Regions from separate parts of the Homo sapiens genome. Here all the other regions are linked to region 1. The links are contacts of gene promoters, found by promoter capture Hi-C in blood cells and fetal thymus (Javierre and others, 2016). All regions are on one chromosome and are shown on one strand. The core of a region is centred on a gene start or on the middle of the fragment in contact, and the rest is flanking DNA. Distances in the headings are between cores, read along the strand shown.

Region 1 (5,002 bases), core at 952-3,451:
GGGTTGGGTGGGGGGAAAACAGGAAAAGTGGTAGCTCCTTCCAACTTTGTCGTTTCGTCCCCTAAGGAGGCCCCGAGGCCCTGACCTGCGGGGGCAGCAGCCCAGTGCAGAGCCAACTCAATGGAGGCCTTTTGCAGCCAGGGTGTGGGAGATAAGTAAGACTGAGGGGGCTCCCAGGCCTGCCGGAGCCCCTCCTGAGCCTGTCCCTTGTTCTGCCCACTCTGCTGCAGGTGGCAACCAGAGGAAAGGGCCACAATGTTCCACGGCCAAGGAGGAAAGAAGGAATGCCCCTTTTCCCATCTCTAGGTAGGAGGAAGGCTTCAGGGCAGAAGCAAAAGGAATTATTTCTTCCCTGGACAGGTTTTCCTAACAAAGTAACCTGGAAAACTATGGCAATTAATCAGAGGAAATCCGTACCCCTCCCTCTCCCCCCACCTCCCCACTCCATACACAATTAGGTGGTGTAATGGAAAGTATATAGGGCTTAGAATCAGGAGTCCTGAATTCTAGTCCCAGCCATGCCACTTTAAATTGTGAGAGTTTAAATTGCTTTTCCTCCTGGGGGAAGTCCAGCTCTCAGATGTAAAATGAGGGTGGCAGTGGGGGTGGGGAGGGTTGGAGGAATGTCATCTCTCAAGTTTTCTTTCAGTTCTAACATTCAAGATCACTGGCCAGGCTGGATGAAGTGGCTCACACCTGTAATCCAGCACTTTGGGAGGCCGAGGTGGGAGGATCCCTTGAGCTCAGGAGTTCAAGACTAGCCTAGGCAACATGGCAAGACCCCGTCTCTACAAAAAATAAAAAATAAATCACTCGCCAGAGGTGGTCCTTCTCTTCCACCTCACTCTAGGTGGTTCCAATGCTCAAAAATGGTAGTTGAATTTATCCTAATTATGTAATTCCAAGGAAAGCCCCTGAGATAGGCAGAGCTTGGAAGACTTAGGAGCCCTCTGATTCTCAGGTGGGTCCATCTGTTATTCTCACTGAGGATTACTTTTTAACCCCAAGATTATCGTTTAGACCCTAGGATAGCCCTAGAATAGACCCTAGAATAGATGTGTCCTGGTTCTAGGACACGTTTCCCATGCCAAAAGCAATGTCTGCCCAGCCCCTCCTCAGGTAGATGGTCTGGTGACCTGACCCTTGGCCACCCCTGTCCCAGCCCTTTTCAGTCTCTTCTTTTCGGCCCACAGAGCTTTTCTACAATCAGGTCAGGAGCCAGGCTTCTGTCTGCTACCTAGCCAGCTCCTGGCCCCCAGCTCACCCCAGCCCTTCCTGCCTGGCTGGGTGGCTGACCCCCGGTCCACGCCTCAGCCATTTCCCGTCTCGCCTGCCGCCATCCTCCTTTCCCCGCCCTCGCTGCCTCTACCAGCTTCACTCTCACTAGTCAGTCCCTCCTCCCCTCCCCATCCCAGACTATTCTAGTCGGGAGCCGTCCTAATTACTCTGTCCAGACTGCAAGGATTTTTCCCCCCCCTGGGGCTGGTGACAAGGGAAATCTCTAAGGCTAAACTCTCTGTAGGTGAAGCTGGACTCACCCACCTGGGCTGCCATAGGAAAACGGAGGAGCTGGCAGTGCCCCGGCGCAGGTAGGGAGAGGCCCTCCTTACCTCGGTCATCAGGCGGTCGGCTCCACTGTTCTCCTCATCCTTGAAGATGATGTCGGGGTTGTAGTTGGGCACGAGGTCCCGGAAGCGCTCGGAGCCCCTTGCCACCCTCCCCTCCGCTGGCCCACTGGCGCCCAGGGTCCGCTCTGGCACGCCGGGCACAAATTGCTTGTAGAGTAGCGGCACGAGCTGCTTGCGCGCATAGCGGCGCCGGCCAACCGGCCCCCGGCCCGGCCCGCAGCTCTGGGCTGGCAGCGCCAGAAGTGCCAAGCAGCACAGGGGCAGTAGATTGGTCAGGAGAGCCATGGATACAGCGGACCTCGGCCAAAAGGGAGCGTTCTTGTCCTCACTAACTCTCCTGTCAGTTAGGCATCTCCACAGGCACCAGAGAGGGCAGCAGGCACAGCTGCCCCCAGAGTGCCCTAGAGCTCTTGTGGCTCCGTGCACCTGGCTGCTGCTAGCTCTGCCCACGTGCCCCGGGAGCGGGCGGGGGGTGTCTAGGACCTGCTACTGACAAACCATCATAGCAGGGAAGGGGGGTCGTGGGTGAGTGCCAGCCCAGCCCGTCTCTGCTGCAGGACTCTGGTGCTGCCAGAACGCCCGGACTCCGGACTCCGCCTTAAGTGGCCCCTGGCCCCGCCCTCCGCCCTTCTCCCAAGACCGTCCCACCCCCTCCCACCCGGGCGGGGGATCTAGCCGGTCACTGCTGGTCCATTTTGCGACTGAAGTGTGTCCCATCCTGGAAACCAGGCAGACACCTGCCTAGGAAATACTTGTAGCTTTACAGTCCTTGGCTGCCTAAACATCCTTCTACCTCCAAGCTTAAACTTGGAACCAAACCACCCTCCTCTGATACTTGAATTGGAATTTTTACTCTCTCAAAGCCTACCCTGGCAGGCCATGCCCTCCGCTGTCATCCAGGAAGTATGGGTTCCAATTTCTGCCCAAGACCAGCCAAGCCCTTTGGGCATACAACCAGAGCCTCCCTTCTCTGTAGTCCTCCCCAGATCTCCCCGACTTCCATCTCTCCTCACATTCAGCATTAAGCAGGACTGGGAGGTGAGGATACCAGGGGCCCATTTCTCTACTAACTTTGCAGTCTCCTTTGGAACTTCCCCAGAACCAGGAACAGAGCTTGGTACTTATTGTCTCATTTAGGACTTCCAACTTTTTTCCCCTTCTCTTCTTTGCCAGGCATCTAATAGCTGCTGTTTTTCAAATGAATGACTTCTCAGTTGGAAGCTGCTGAAGGGCAGTGGACACTCAAAAGTCTTTGTAAGAGGTGAGGATCACTTCCCTTAACCGTCCATCTAGGCACCTCTCCAGCTTTCTCCCTCTCTGGACTCCCGGGGCTCCATTTTCAGCCACTCAGATCTCATCTCAGAGGCACCACGTCCAATTTCTTTTGTTTAGAAGTCATTTCTTCTAAGAAGCCTTCCTTGATGTCCCAACACTGCCCACCTGTGTTCCCTCGAGAACCATTACTTAACTGCAGTGTTAGAACAGTATTAGAATTATCTGGCACCTTACTAGACAAAGCAATCTTAAGCACACACATATTTATCATGTATCTCCAAGGTTAAGTGCCTACTCTACAGAAGGGTGCTTTGCAAGCATTTGTGGAATCTACACTTTGTGTTTCATATTCACCCTCCCCTCACCACACTCTATGGCTAGTACTCATAGCAACTTTGTGTACATCAGAAAAAACCAGGCCAGGCACAGTGGCTCACTCCTGTAATCCCAACACTTTGGGGGCGAGGCAAGGACTGCTTGAGGCCATGAGTTGAAGACCAACTTGGTCAACATAGTGACACCCCGTTTCAAAAAAAAAAAATTAATTAGTGGGAGGTAGTGGTACATGCCTGTAGTCTTAGGTACTCAGGAGGCTGAGGAAGGAGGATCACTTGGGTGCAAGAGTTCAAGGCTGTAGAGTGAGCTAAGATCATGCCACTGCACTCTAACCTGGGTGACAGAGTGAGGACCCCCCCCCCCAAAAAAAAGATGGCTGGGTGTTGTGGCTAACCCCTGTAATTCCATCATTTGGGGAGTCCAAGGTAGGTGGATCACTTGAGCTCAGGAGTTCAAGACCAGCCCAGGCAACATGGCAAAACCCCATCTCTACTAAAAATACAAAAATTAGCCAGGCATGGTAGCATGTGTCTGTTGTCCTAGCTATTCTGGAGCCTGAGCTGGAAGAATGGCTTGAGCCCAGAATGCGGAGGTTGCAGTGAGCTGAGATTGCACCACTGCACTCCAGCCAGGGTGATAGAGCCAGACCTTGTCTCACAAAAAAAAAAAAAAAAAAAAGAAGAAGAAAAAAGAAAAAAAAAGCACCCCTTCCTCAAGATGACTGACATTTATTAGAAAACTATCATAGTAACTATCCACACAATGACTATGAGGTGAATGGTGTCCCTGGAAGCTGTGCAATACACAATCTGTATAAGCCTAAGTTTTGCGCTCTTACTCCCAACATAGCACATGGGCTTTTCAAGAAACTGATGGCCTCTAGTAAAAAGCTAGATTCTTCTCTCAGGTAGGAAATGAAAATCCTTGTCAGCCAGCCACTTATTTTACTCTATATCCAATAGTTAAGCCAGGGAGGATAGGGCTGAAGGTATGAGTGTATCGGGGAGGTTAGCCTACTCCTATGCCCATGTCCTACCCCCAATACTCAAGGTACAGAAACAAGGCCATGAATATAAGGAGGAGTCAGGGGACAAGCCAGCTTTAAGCAAGACTGAGGATGGAGGAGTTTCCCACTGCCCAACTGCATGGCCTAACACCAGATCCAAGTCCCCAAAGGATGGTAATAATATAGATGAAGGGGAAGGAAAAGGATGGTGGGCAGGACCCCTCTGCTTCTCTTACTGGGCAGACGCCGGGCTGGTGGGAGCAAGGCTGTTCAAATATACACAGAGACAGGTGCTTTAAAAAAACAAAGCAAACCCTGGGATCAACTTTATTGCTGATGGCTGAAGCCTCCTCCTCCCTATCCCCTTGGTCTTTCAGGTGGTCCAAAGCCCCTCCAGGATAGCACAGTGCTTAGGCTCTGCTGGGCCAGAGGCAAGGGAGACAATCTATCTCCCGAGCCTGCCCTGGCCCAGTCCTTTCCCTGCCCCTACCCCACCCTATTGCACATCAAATCATGTAAACATGGCTATGGGGATGGCCCAGAACAGCAGTGAGGCAGATTGATGTGTAAACAGATTTGGGATCAGGGGCTAGACCCAGTCACCCAGCCCTACCCCATGCTGAGGCCACAGTTAAGTATGGAAAAGCAGGAGGTCCTGGTCCCAAACTCTGGCTCAGATTATGCAATAGTGCAGATGGCTCTGCTCCCCTCTGCCACCCACCCTCTCAGATTCCAGGTCCTGAGGTCCAAGTAGCCT
Region 2 (5,002 bases), core at 966-3,465, 730 kb after region 1:
TATAAGAGGGCGGGTGGGTGAGTATGTTGTGCTCCCTGGCCCAGATCCTAAAACAAGTCCCAACAGCTGAGACGTAAACTGTCTCCTGGGAATCTGCTTACCCTGCTGGCCCTTGGCTGCCTCCTCCTCTCTCAGCTCCTCTTCAAAGGGCCAGGATGTCTCACCACAGGCGTGATGGGTGGGCCAAACCCAAGCCAGCAGGAGCAGGAGTTCATATCCCAAGGCACCAGGGGTGTGTGGGACAAGGTCTACTCTCAGGCTTAGAATAAGGGAATCTGTTCTCTCTACCCAGGGTTCTAATCCTAACTAATTGCAATTTAAAGCACACCCAACACTTTAGCTCCCTCTAAATGGAACCATTCTGCCAGAGGACCTTTCTCCCCTATAGATTCACCCATCAGTGGAACCATTCAATGTCAAAAAGTGGAAGGGAATATTAGAGCTATCTAGTCCAACTACTGACATTTAAAGATGGGGAAACTGAGCCCCAGAGAGCAAACTGTCTTGGCCAAGGTCATACAGCAAGCTAGGAAAAGTAGGGACCAGAGCTTCTGACTCTGTCTTTATTGATACCCGCTTGCTCCCCAAACACTTAGGTCTTCACCGGCCTATCATGAAGATCCTTCTTCCCTGCCAACCACAGCACCTGCCCCTCCAGGTCCTCACTCTCTTCGTGAGGGCCAGAGCTGGAGAAAGATGCTGGAGGGACAAAGCCACCTCATGCACAGACCATAGACTTTGAAAACAAGCTTGAACATGGGAATATCTCCCCGGAAAGGAATACACACGGTTTCTTTGGGATAGGAAACCCACTAATCCCAGGTTGTTTTTAGGAAGATGGGGGGACCAATTTGAGAAGTGAATTTTCCTATCACACAAGGAGTCTCAGAGAGCCAGATGGCGTAATGTCTGCAAGGGAGGGTCTGCAACAAGGCAAATGGGCTATGTTCATTTTCCCCGAAAGTACTGACCACAAAACGGTAAGGCATTGACACTCTTTCTACTGCTCCCCAGGCCACCCCTGCCCGGGCCACTTCCTCTGGCTGACCATTGTGCTTAAGAAGGAGGACCCATGACAGACGCGGAGAAGTGGGAGGGAGGGATTGCCTCTACAGCCAGAGAACTCCTTAGCCCAAGACCCCCAGCTCCTCAGCAAGGCAGGCCTTTAAGAAGTAGCAGCTGGACAGACTAAGTGGACTCAGCTGATCCAGCCCTGGGATGCCTGGAAAACCAGGCCTGTGGGAGGTGAGGGCCCTCTGTGCCCTTGGGGCCGTGCCAGGACTGGAGATAACGCGGGACCTTGGGCCCAGGACAGGGAGAGGGGAGCTAGGATCCGGGCAGCCGCTTTCTTAGTTGGGCTAAGCCAGGGAAGCGTCGGGCACAGATGAATTCTCTGCATTCTTCTGGCACCGCAGCCAGCACCCAGAGGGCCTTTTCTGCAGACGCTGCCCTGTCCCTGCTCCCTGCCCAACCAACCCTTCTCCCTCCCTTAGCTTCTCTTCAGCGTGCAGCCCACCAGGTCCTTCCTCCTTCCCGCAGCCCCTCAAAGCCTTTGAAGGGGCTGTTCTCTAGGAGACCCGGTCTTTCCGCCTCTCCCCGCCTTCCCCAGGCCCTACCGCCCCAGGCCACGGGGAATGGGAAGGAGTGCGAAAGGGAGCCCCAGGCTCGTCTCCGCGCCTGCGCTTTGGGGAGAGAGCCCCTCCCCCCGCAATAACCCGGCACCGCTAAGCGGCACCCGGACGGTGGGATGCGGGTTGGGTGGGGTGAGCAGCTGGGGCAAGGTCAGTGCTTTCAAAGAGGGAGGGGAGCCCGGCCCCCGGAACATCCCCCACTCCCGAAAGTTTCCCTTCCGGGGCCACGGAGTGTGCGCGAGGATGGCGCGGGGGGCGGGAGGGGGTGGGGTGGGGGTGCACAGAGTCGCAGCCGGACCCCCGAGGAGGGTGCGGCTGGAGGGAGGGACGGAGGGGCGGGCAGCAGGGTTTGGGCAGGAAGCCGCGACGCCCTCTCCGACTCTGTACTGCCACGAGAGCCTTACCCTCCACACCCCACTCCCCCCGGCCCGGAGCTACAGATCGCCCCCCCGCACTCGCCGCCCTTTCAATCCCAAGTAGACCCAGAACTCACCGAAATCAGGTGTTGAGCTGGGCCAGGGCAGGCCGGATCCGCCAGGTCCATGGCCGCGGCTTGGGGGCGGGGGGCAGAGAAAGGGGGGTGCCGGAGCCGCCTCCTGATGTCAAGGCTTTAAAGGGGCCGGGGAGCCCCGCCCCTGGCCCTGACCCCGCCTCCCTCCTCCCTAGCAGCCAATCCACGTTCAGCCTGGATGCGCGCCCCTCCCAGCCCCCTCCAGATGTTCCCAGGACGCGAGCTAAGTCTGCCCGGCCGGCGCGCGCCGCTTCCGCTTTGGTGGGAAGGACCTCCCTTCCCCCTTATAGAAACACTTTCTCCAGGCCGGGCCGGGCTTGGTAAACCTCAGCCGTGCCTGGGTAGAGGACGCCGGGCTGGGCCGAGCGGGGGTGGAATGAGGGCGTCTAGAACAGAGAAAACTAAGTAGGTGCGCGCGGGCCCACAGGCATGCGCGTTTGCTTCTGTGGGGCTGGGCGTGCACGTGTATGTGTGGTTGTGAGCGTCGGTGTTTGTAATTTGCTTTTCTGCATACGTGTTGGGTGTAAATCCATGGGGGAAAGGCTTGAGTGCCTCTTTGGCCTTAAATGCTCCCGCCTCTCTCTTCCTTCTCCAGGATGGGGTCGTCCCCCCAGTAATCTGGAAAACAGTTACAGCAACAGGCTCCTCTCATCAGACGGCAGTGCTGGTCGTTTCCTCACTGGTTTGCGGGGAAGGCTGGGCAGAAAAAGGATGCAACCTTGTTCTCAACCACTTGCTATCTCGGTGAGGATGAGGAAAAGCAAACAGCCCATCCAGGCCCCTGCAGAGCCTCAGAGCTTCAATATCATTCCCATTAGTCCTTAATTAAACACCTATTTGCCCTTGCCTAAATACCGTATAACCCTCACAGCCTGCATTGTAGTGACTGCCCCAGAAATGTAGGTTCTCACCTGGGTTCTGCAGGGAAATACGAAGGAATCCCTAGGTACAGTCTCCGCCTACTTCATTAAAATTTCTTTTGTTGCGAGTATACAAAGGATGCAGCTTAGAGTATCATATTAGTCCAATAAAGGAACATAAAAAGTAAGGCAAGTTAGGGTGCTCAGATTGGCTAGGATTAAGAGTTCTTTTCTGAAGGAGGTTTATTTAAATACGGAATTTGAAGGGCAGAGAGAGCTTGAGTAGGGTCCAGGCAGGGTAAAGGCCACAAGGAGATTCAGATAGGAAAGAGCAAATTATCTGCGTGGGACCGTGAGCAGATCACCGTGGTACGTTGGGAAGTGGGAGAAATTAATGGAGGAGGTTTCTTATGGAGGAGAGCAGAATAAGGATATGGATGTGACAAGACATAAGATAAAGAAGTCATTTTGGGTTCTTGAGCATAGAGGTAGTTTGATGAAAAGAGTGCCCAAGGACAGCTATTACTGGAACCTAAAAGATGTCTTGATGGGTACCCCCACCAGCTTTCTCATTTTTTTGCTTAAAAAATATTTTATTCTTTTCTTTTCTCTGAGATGGAGTCTCACTCTGTCCCAGGTTGGACGGAGTGCAGTGGCACAATCTCTGCTCACTGCAACCTCCACCTCCTGATTTCAGGTGATTCTCCTGCCTCAGCCTCCCAAGTAGCTGGTATTATAAGAGTGCACCACCACACCTGGCTAATTTTTGTATTTTTAGTAGAGACGGAGGCTTCACCATGTTGGCCAGGCTGGTCTCGAACTCCTGACCTCAGGTGATTTGCCCACCTCGGCCTCCCAAAGTGCTAGGATTATAGATGTGAGCCACCATGCCCGGCCCTTAAATTATTCTTAACGTGCAATAAAATGCACACATCTTAGGTGCTTTGTTTGGTGAATTTCAAAATATACACCTATGTAATTAACACCCAAAACAAGATACTGAACCACCACCCTATAAAGTTCCCTCATGCCCCTTTATAGTTGATCACCCCACACCCACCACCACCCTCCCCTGGCAACTTCCTGAATTATAGCACCATAGATTTGTCTGCATTTGTATTTCACATATATGGAGCTTTACAGTATGTACTTGTGTCTGTATCCTTTAGCTTAGTAATGTTTTTGAGATCCATCCATGTGTATCAGTAATCTGTTCTTTTTTATTGCTGAGTATTATTCCATTGCATGAATATATCACAATGTGTTTATCCATTCTTCAATTGATGGATATTTGGGTATTTCCAGTTGGGGTTATGATGAATATGGCTGCTATTAACATTCTGGTGCAAATATTTTCATAGACATGTTTTCATTTCTCCTTTTCACCTTATTTCTTGATGATAGTGGCATCTTCGGAAGCCTACAGCATTGTGAATTCTTATTCAATCATCTAACATTGAATAGGGATCAGTGGGCTAGTTCTGGGATTACAACAAAAAGTAGACATGGTCCTTTCCTCAAAGGGCTTGAAAGTCCAATAAAACTCCATGTACCTGTTGTATTCCTAATATTGCCTTGTATTCCTAATTCTGCCTTGAGGTAGAAAACCTTAAAAGTCTGCCAGGCATTTCTAACTACTTTTGGATGTTTCCAAATAACTGAATTATTGGAAGTAAACAGAACATCAAGATGATAATTTACTTTCCTTTTTTTTTTTTTTTTTTTTGAGACAGAGTCTTGCTCTGTCACCCAGACTGGAGTGTAGCAGCACAATCTCGGCTCACTGCAAGGTCTGCCTTCCAAGAGGCAATTCTCTTGCCTCTTGCAATTCTCAAGCAATTCTCCTGCCTCACCCTCCCAAGTAGCTGAGATTACAGGCGTGCGCCACCACACCCAGCTAATTTTTGTATTTTTAGTAGAAATGAGGTTTCACCAAGTTGTCCAGGCTGGTCTTGAACTCCTGACCTCAAGTGATCTGCCCACTTCAGCCTCCCAAAGTG
Region 3 (5,002 bases), core at 746-3,245, 610 kb after region 1:
GATGGATTCTGGTTCTGAGCTCTCACAAAAAATGGCCTGGCAGCTCCCACCTAAGGCAGCCTCCCACCCAATCCACCTCACCCCATCCCTTTCTCCCCAGTTTCTATAGCTAACTTGTGTCAGCTTGCTGGGGATTTTCACACCCCCACCAGAGTGCAGATCCCCTCCCACTCTTTTCCCCAACAGTTGGGCTCTTGTTCTCAAGGCCACTAAGTCCCAGTCTCTCCTCCTCAGCCTGTGAGATGGTCACAGCACATTGGTAATCACTGACTCACCCGATCCCCCGAGGAGGCTGGGGGAAATGCAGAGGGCCACAGGATGTATGGCCCACATCCCTTTGGCCCTTCGCAGAGCTGGCGGGCAGAGAGGTGCCAGCGACACCACTTCCCCTTGGAACACTGTGGACCCTCTTTGAGCCAGCTCTGGTGCCAGTGGGCTGATGTCAGATTCTCTACCATCGGAGAGGCCAAGATCTCTAGACAGCTCCACTGTTGCCAACAGATCTAATCTCCTTATTCCAAGGCAGATGAAATCCAATAAGGCTGCTAAGTCCACAACTTATCCCTCCTGATGGGCAGAGGCAAAGGCAGAGTCGGCCATACCAACAATAACGCCAGAATTATTACTGCTTCTTAGAAAACTCTTTGGGGAAGTGAGAACTATTTCCCCAAATTTCTCAAAGATTAACCCCGGTTTACCAATGTTTTCGCTCTGCAAAACTTCATTTTCAGCGCAAACATATTTTCTGGCTCCTTCCCGGTGATACCAGCTCAGAACCTCTCGCTTCATAGAGCCACTGACATCAATGTCCAATTCCCACACCAAAGAAGAATCCCAAAGTCAGCTCTAAAAACCCATTTATACAGACCGTTTGAAACCCACAGAAAGACTAAAAAGCACAGGCTAAACAACACAAACCAGTCACTATGGCTTAACGTGAAAAGGGGGGGAGGAGGCGGGATGGTTTGTGTATTGTTTCACTTGGAGAAATACCCCAGTGAAATGGTTTATCCACATGTTCAGCCTTTCAGGCAAATCCACTCTAACTTAGCAGGATGCCTGCAGGCCGTTCTGAAAATAAGCAGAATGGCATACTCTTTATTCCACCCCCTTCAGGAGCTGCCAGCCGCCTCCCCATCCCCCTCTCCCCCCAAACATCTGGTCTGGGCTGGGAGTGGGACCCACTCCCTGGGAAGCCTCCATGTTCGCAGGAGAGGCGGTGTCCCCACTCAGGGAAGCCTGCTGAGGAGCGAGCCGGCCGCGCTTCTGAATTCCCCCCACCCGCGAGAGGCTCCGGGCTGAGAATGCTAGGGACGGGGAGCCTGGCGAAGAAGCGGGGAAACGGGAAAAGGGCAGCAGAAGGGGGAGGAAGAAGGAGGGAGAAGCCTGGTTCCTAGGACGGTCCCGAACTGGGGACTTCTCCTAAGGGTCCAGCGGTGGAGGCGTCGGTCCCGAGATCCCCGACGGGGCTGTCCGGGCCGGCCAGCGGCTGCTCAGAGGTTCCTGGGAAGACACTGGAGGCCGGGATCCGTTCGGGACCCCGACTGAAAGGGTGGGCGGGACGGGGGCCCAGCACAAAGTCCCAGCCCGGGCGTCGGGACCTGAGGGGCGGTACGCGGGGGAAGGGGCTGGGCTCAGCTCTCACCAGCACCAGGGCGAACCTTTCCTCCAGCTCACAGGGCTCAGGCATCGGCATCTTGCCGGGCGGCAGCAACAACGGGACAGAGGGGGGCTCTCCCGGGACCCCCTCGGCGCTCTCCAGGTTGCCCATCGCGGCGGGGCCCCCTCAGGGGCCTCGGCCCCCCACCTCCACGCTCCGGAGCTTTCGGCTCCGCGGCTCCGACCAGGCTCCTCCCTCAGCGCCGGCTCCCCGAGTCCCGACTCCTCGGCCCCGTCGAGGGCGCCGGGGGTTCCCTGGAGTCCCGCTGGCGGGGGCGCGCGGCGAGGGCGGAGGCAGCGTAGCGGACAGCCGCACCGAAGCAAGGCGGACGGAGGCGGCCGGCTCTTGCTCACACCCGCCGCCTCGCCGCGCTCGGCGCGCCGCCCGGGCGCTGCCCCTCCCCGCCCCCCGCGCTCTTTCCCTTCCCCCGCCAACCTCGCTTCCTCCCACCCACACCCGGCCGAGACTCGGGCTTCCCCCGCGAGCGCCGACTGCAGCCCGCGCGACGCGCGCCCCATTCATGCAGGCCCCGCCTCCCGCCCAGAGGCCTCACAGGCGGCCCGGCCCGCCCCACCTGCGCCCGATTGACGGCCGCGTCTGCCAATCACAGCGCCTCCCGCCCTTGACGGCCTCGTGCCGGGCGCCGAGCGCTCCCTGGCGGCCTCAGCCGGCATCGAATCACCGCGGTTCCCAGAGGGCGTGAGGGGCTGGCGTGGACACACCGGGAATGGACCGTACCCTTTTTCAAAAGGAACTCATGATGTATACAAGTAAGTAAAATATTATACAAGGCATGGCGTACAAAACTAACTACAAGAGAAGTAGAAACAAGCAGGATACTCAGAAGAGGGAGAGAGATAGTACCTGTTAAGAGTCGGGGTGAGGGAGATCATAGTTGGACCAGGCATTGAGGGATGAGGAAGCCCTTACCCGACAGAGGCAGGGGAAAAAACGTTTGGGAGGAGAGAAGCTTAACCATCTGGCTGCGTGTGAAAATGGAGAGGCGGGAGAAGAACGCTGTTCTGGGCTCAGTCGGCGGCTGGGTCGTTGACATTTGCGGTGGAAATTTGTTGTCTAGCCGCCATCTTCTTCCAGTGAGAGCACCCCCTTTTCTTTTAGGAAACCACCTCTCCCCTCTTCTCAGTCTAAATGGAGCTGAATTTTATCCCCAGTTCCAAAGGACCGCATGACCCAGGCCCAGTCAGTCACAACATTTTCCTCCTCTACCCATGGACACTGTTTTAGGGATTGTCACTTGACCCAAGCCCAGACAATATGATATATCCAAGGCTTTCTCTGAAACAATCAGGAAAGAGGCACTCACTCTCTCTCCATTTAGGCTGCAAAATTATTAGAATGTAAACCTGCAGCCGCTGGTGGCCGTCTTATCATCACCTGTAACACATCAAGCCTGCTTGAGAATGAAGCCAGCGCAGAGGAGAGAAAAGCTATGAGACAGGACAAAATTCTAATGACATGCCAAGAACCTGGATCTAACCATGCCTGAAGTTATCACCTAGATTTTTAATTCATTTATTCAACAAATATTTATTTTAGAAAGTTTATTCTATGCCAGATACTATTCTGGGCATTGAAGGTACATCTGCGAACAAACAGGATATACATTGTGTCCTCTTGGAATTCACAATCTGTGTAGAAGGAAAGGTAGACAATAAACTAGACGAGTAAAATGTATAGATGTTAGTGATCAGTGTTAATAAAAATAAAACTGAAAGGTGATAGAGATGGAAGAGGCATTAAGATTTTAAATAGAGTTGCTTACTTGGGAGGCTGAGGCAGGAGGATCAATTGAAACTAGGAGGTTGAGGCTGTAGTGAGCCATGTTCATGGCACTCCACTCTAGCCTGGGTGACAGGGTGAGGCTCTGTCTCAATAAATAAATAAACACAGCTGTTGCTTGTCACAGGCATGATGGCTTCAAGGTTAATTTTCAGAGCTGGAGCGCTAGCCGCATAGGCCTGAGGGCTTACAGTCCCAATGGGGTGGTTGCAGTGTGCTTCATGGCATCTGGAGGTGGCGTTCCTACTGATGACAAGCAGATGACTGGGCTGGAGAGGGAGTTCATGACAGCCATGTATGAGATTGGACCCATACAATATATTACCCCCAAAGGCAGCTTCAGGCACCAGGGAAGACCCTAACAGCTCCCTCCATCACCAAGATAATAGTGAGCTGCATCGGTGAAGAGGACAACAGTGCTGTCAACTGGTTCTGGCTGCACAAAGGCGAGACCCAGTGATGCTCTAACTATGAACCCATTACAAGCTGATGTCCCACAAGTTGGCCCAGTGAGCCCTGGCACTAATTGCTCAAAATGTGCTGTAAAGTATCTTCTCTCCAATAAAGACTAGTCATTGCATTGGCTCCTTCTTCCCCTCCCTCATAATAAATATTTTAAATAGGATGATCAAGGAAGGACTCACTAATAAGATAGCATTTGGATAAAGATCTGAAGGATGCAAGGAAATAAGCTATGTGGCTATCTAGGGAAGAATTATCCAGACAAAGGGAATGGCAAGTGCATACTATCTCTGATGTATTAGAAGAACAGCAAAGATGCCAGTGTAGCTGGAGTGCAATGAGCAAGGAAAAGGGTAGTGAAAGATGAAGTCAGAAAGGTAACCAGAAGCCATATATTGTGTAGGATATTGTAGGCTATTGTGTGAGGACTTCGGTTTTCTCTAAGTAGGATAGGTAGCCATTGGAGGATTTTGAGTAGAGGAGTGGTATGATCTAACATGTTTTGTAACAGGGATCACTCTGGCTCTTGCATTGAAAACAAACCAATAGAAGTATGGACAGGGAGACTAGTTAGCAGGCTAGTGCAATCATTTGGGTGAGAGATGGTTTGAACCAGGGTGGTAACTGTACCGGTGGAAAGAAATGGTCAGATTCCTTATTAAAGACTTGAAAGTAAAGCTGATGGAATTTCCTGATAGTTTGAATGTGGAGGGTGAATGAAAGATAACTGCAAAGTATTTGACTTGAGCAACAAAGATGGTGGAGTTTTCACTAATTGAAATGGGGGAAGTGATAGGAGGAGTAGGTTTGGTGAGGGGGAACTGGAAAGGGAAGGTCAGGAACAAGTTTGGGCCATGTTGAGTTTGATTTGCCCTTTGGACATCCAAGTAAAGATATCCACTAAGCAATTGGATATAAATGAGTTTGCTCTTCAGACTCATATATGTCTTATTGCGATTGCACCCCGCTGGGACTGCAAGCCCTCAAAGCCTTCATGGCCAGCGTTCCAGCTGTGCAAAGTAACCTTGAAGCCATCATGCCTGCGACAAGCAGCAGCTCTACTTATTAATTTATGCAATT

Evidence for each region. The method cuts DNA at HindIII sites, captures the fragments that hold promoters and counts their contacts. A CHiCAGO score of 5 or more calls a contact.
Region 2: the fragment with the promoter of NCKAP5L here is called in contact with the fragment with the promoter of DHH in region 1 in 4 of 17 cell types (neutrophils, total B cells, monocytes and 1 more); the score reaches 6.6 in neutrophils.
Region 3: the fragment with the promoter of FMNL3 here is called in contact with the fragment with the promoter of DHH in region 1 in 8 of 17 cell types (total CD4 T cells, non-activated CD4 T cells, naive CD8 T cells and 5 more); the score reaches 7.6 in total CD4 T cells.

The regions. Positions count from the first base shown.
Region 1 is chr12:49,092,600-49,097,601 of GRCh38, forward strand. It overlaps DHH (desert hedgehog signaling molecule), which reads right to left and starts at 2,202. Exons shown (of 3, transcript NM_021044.4): 1 at 1,611-2,202. The coding sequence starts at 1,913. DHH-AS1 (DHH antisense RNA 1) reads left to right here. Exons shown (of 4, transcript XR_007063295.1): 2 at 231-306; 3 at 1,523-1,589; 4 at 2,802-3,145. LMBR1L (limb development membrane protein 1 like) reads right to left here. Exons shown (of 17, transcript NM_018113.4): 17 at 4,540-5,002. RefSeq lists an enhancer at 75-219 and a cis regulatory region at 139-156. The HindIII fragment of the contact is 10,631 bases long and covers 1-2,426 here.
Region 2 is chr12:49,826,198-49,831,199 of GRCh38, forward strand. It overlaps NCKAP5L (NCK associated protein 5 like), which reads right to left and starts at 2,216. Exons shown (of 13, transcript NM_001037806.4): 1 at 2,125-2,216. It overlaps BCDIN3D-AS1 (BCDIN3D antisense RNA 1), which reads left to right and starts at 2,346. Exons shown (of 3, transcript NR_027501.1): 1 at 2,346-2,547; 2 at 2,738-2,886. RefSeq lists enhancers at 1-481, 1,625-1,674, 2,090-2,668, 2,669-3,247 and a silencer at 1,935-2,344. The HindIII fragment of the contact is 6,034 bases long and covers 748-5,002 here.
Region 3 is chr12:49,705,410-49,710,411 of GRCh38, forward strand. FMNL3 (formin like 3) reads right to left here and starts at 1,996. Exons shown (of 26, transcript NM_175736.5): 1 at 1,646-1,996. The coding sequence starts at 1,771. LOC124902929 (a long non-coding RNA gene) reads left to right here and starts at 2,317. Exons shown (of 3, transcript XR_007063299.1): 1 at 2,317-2,430. It also overlaps the pseudogene COX5BP5. RefSeq lists a silencer at 1,640-2,409 and an enhancer at 2,430-2,579. The HindIII fragment of the contact is 3,771 bases long and covers 1-2,628 here.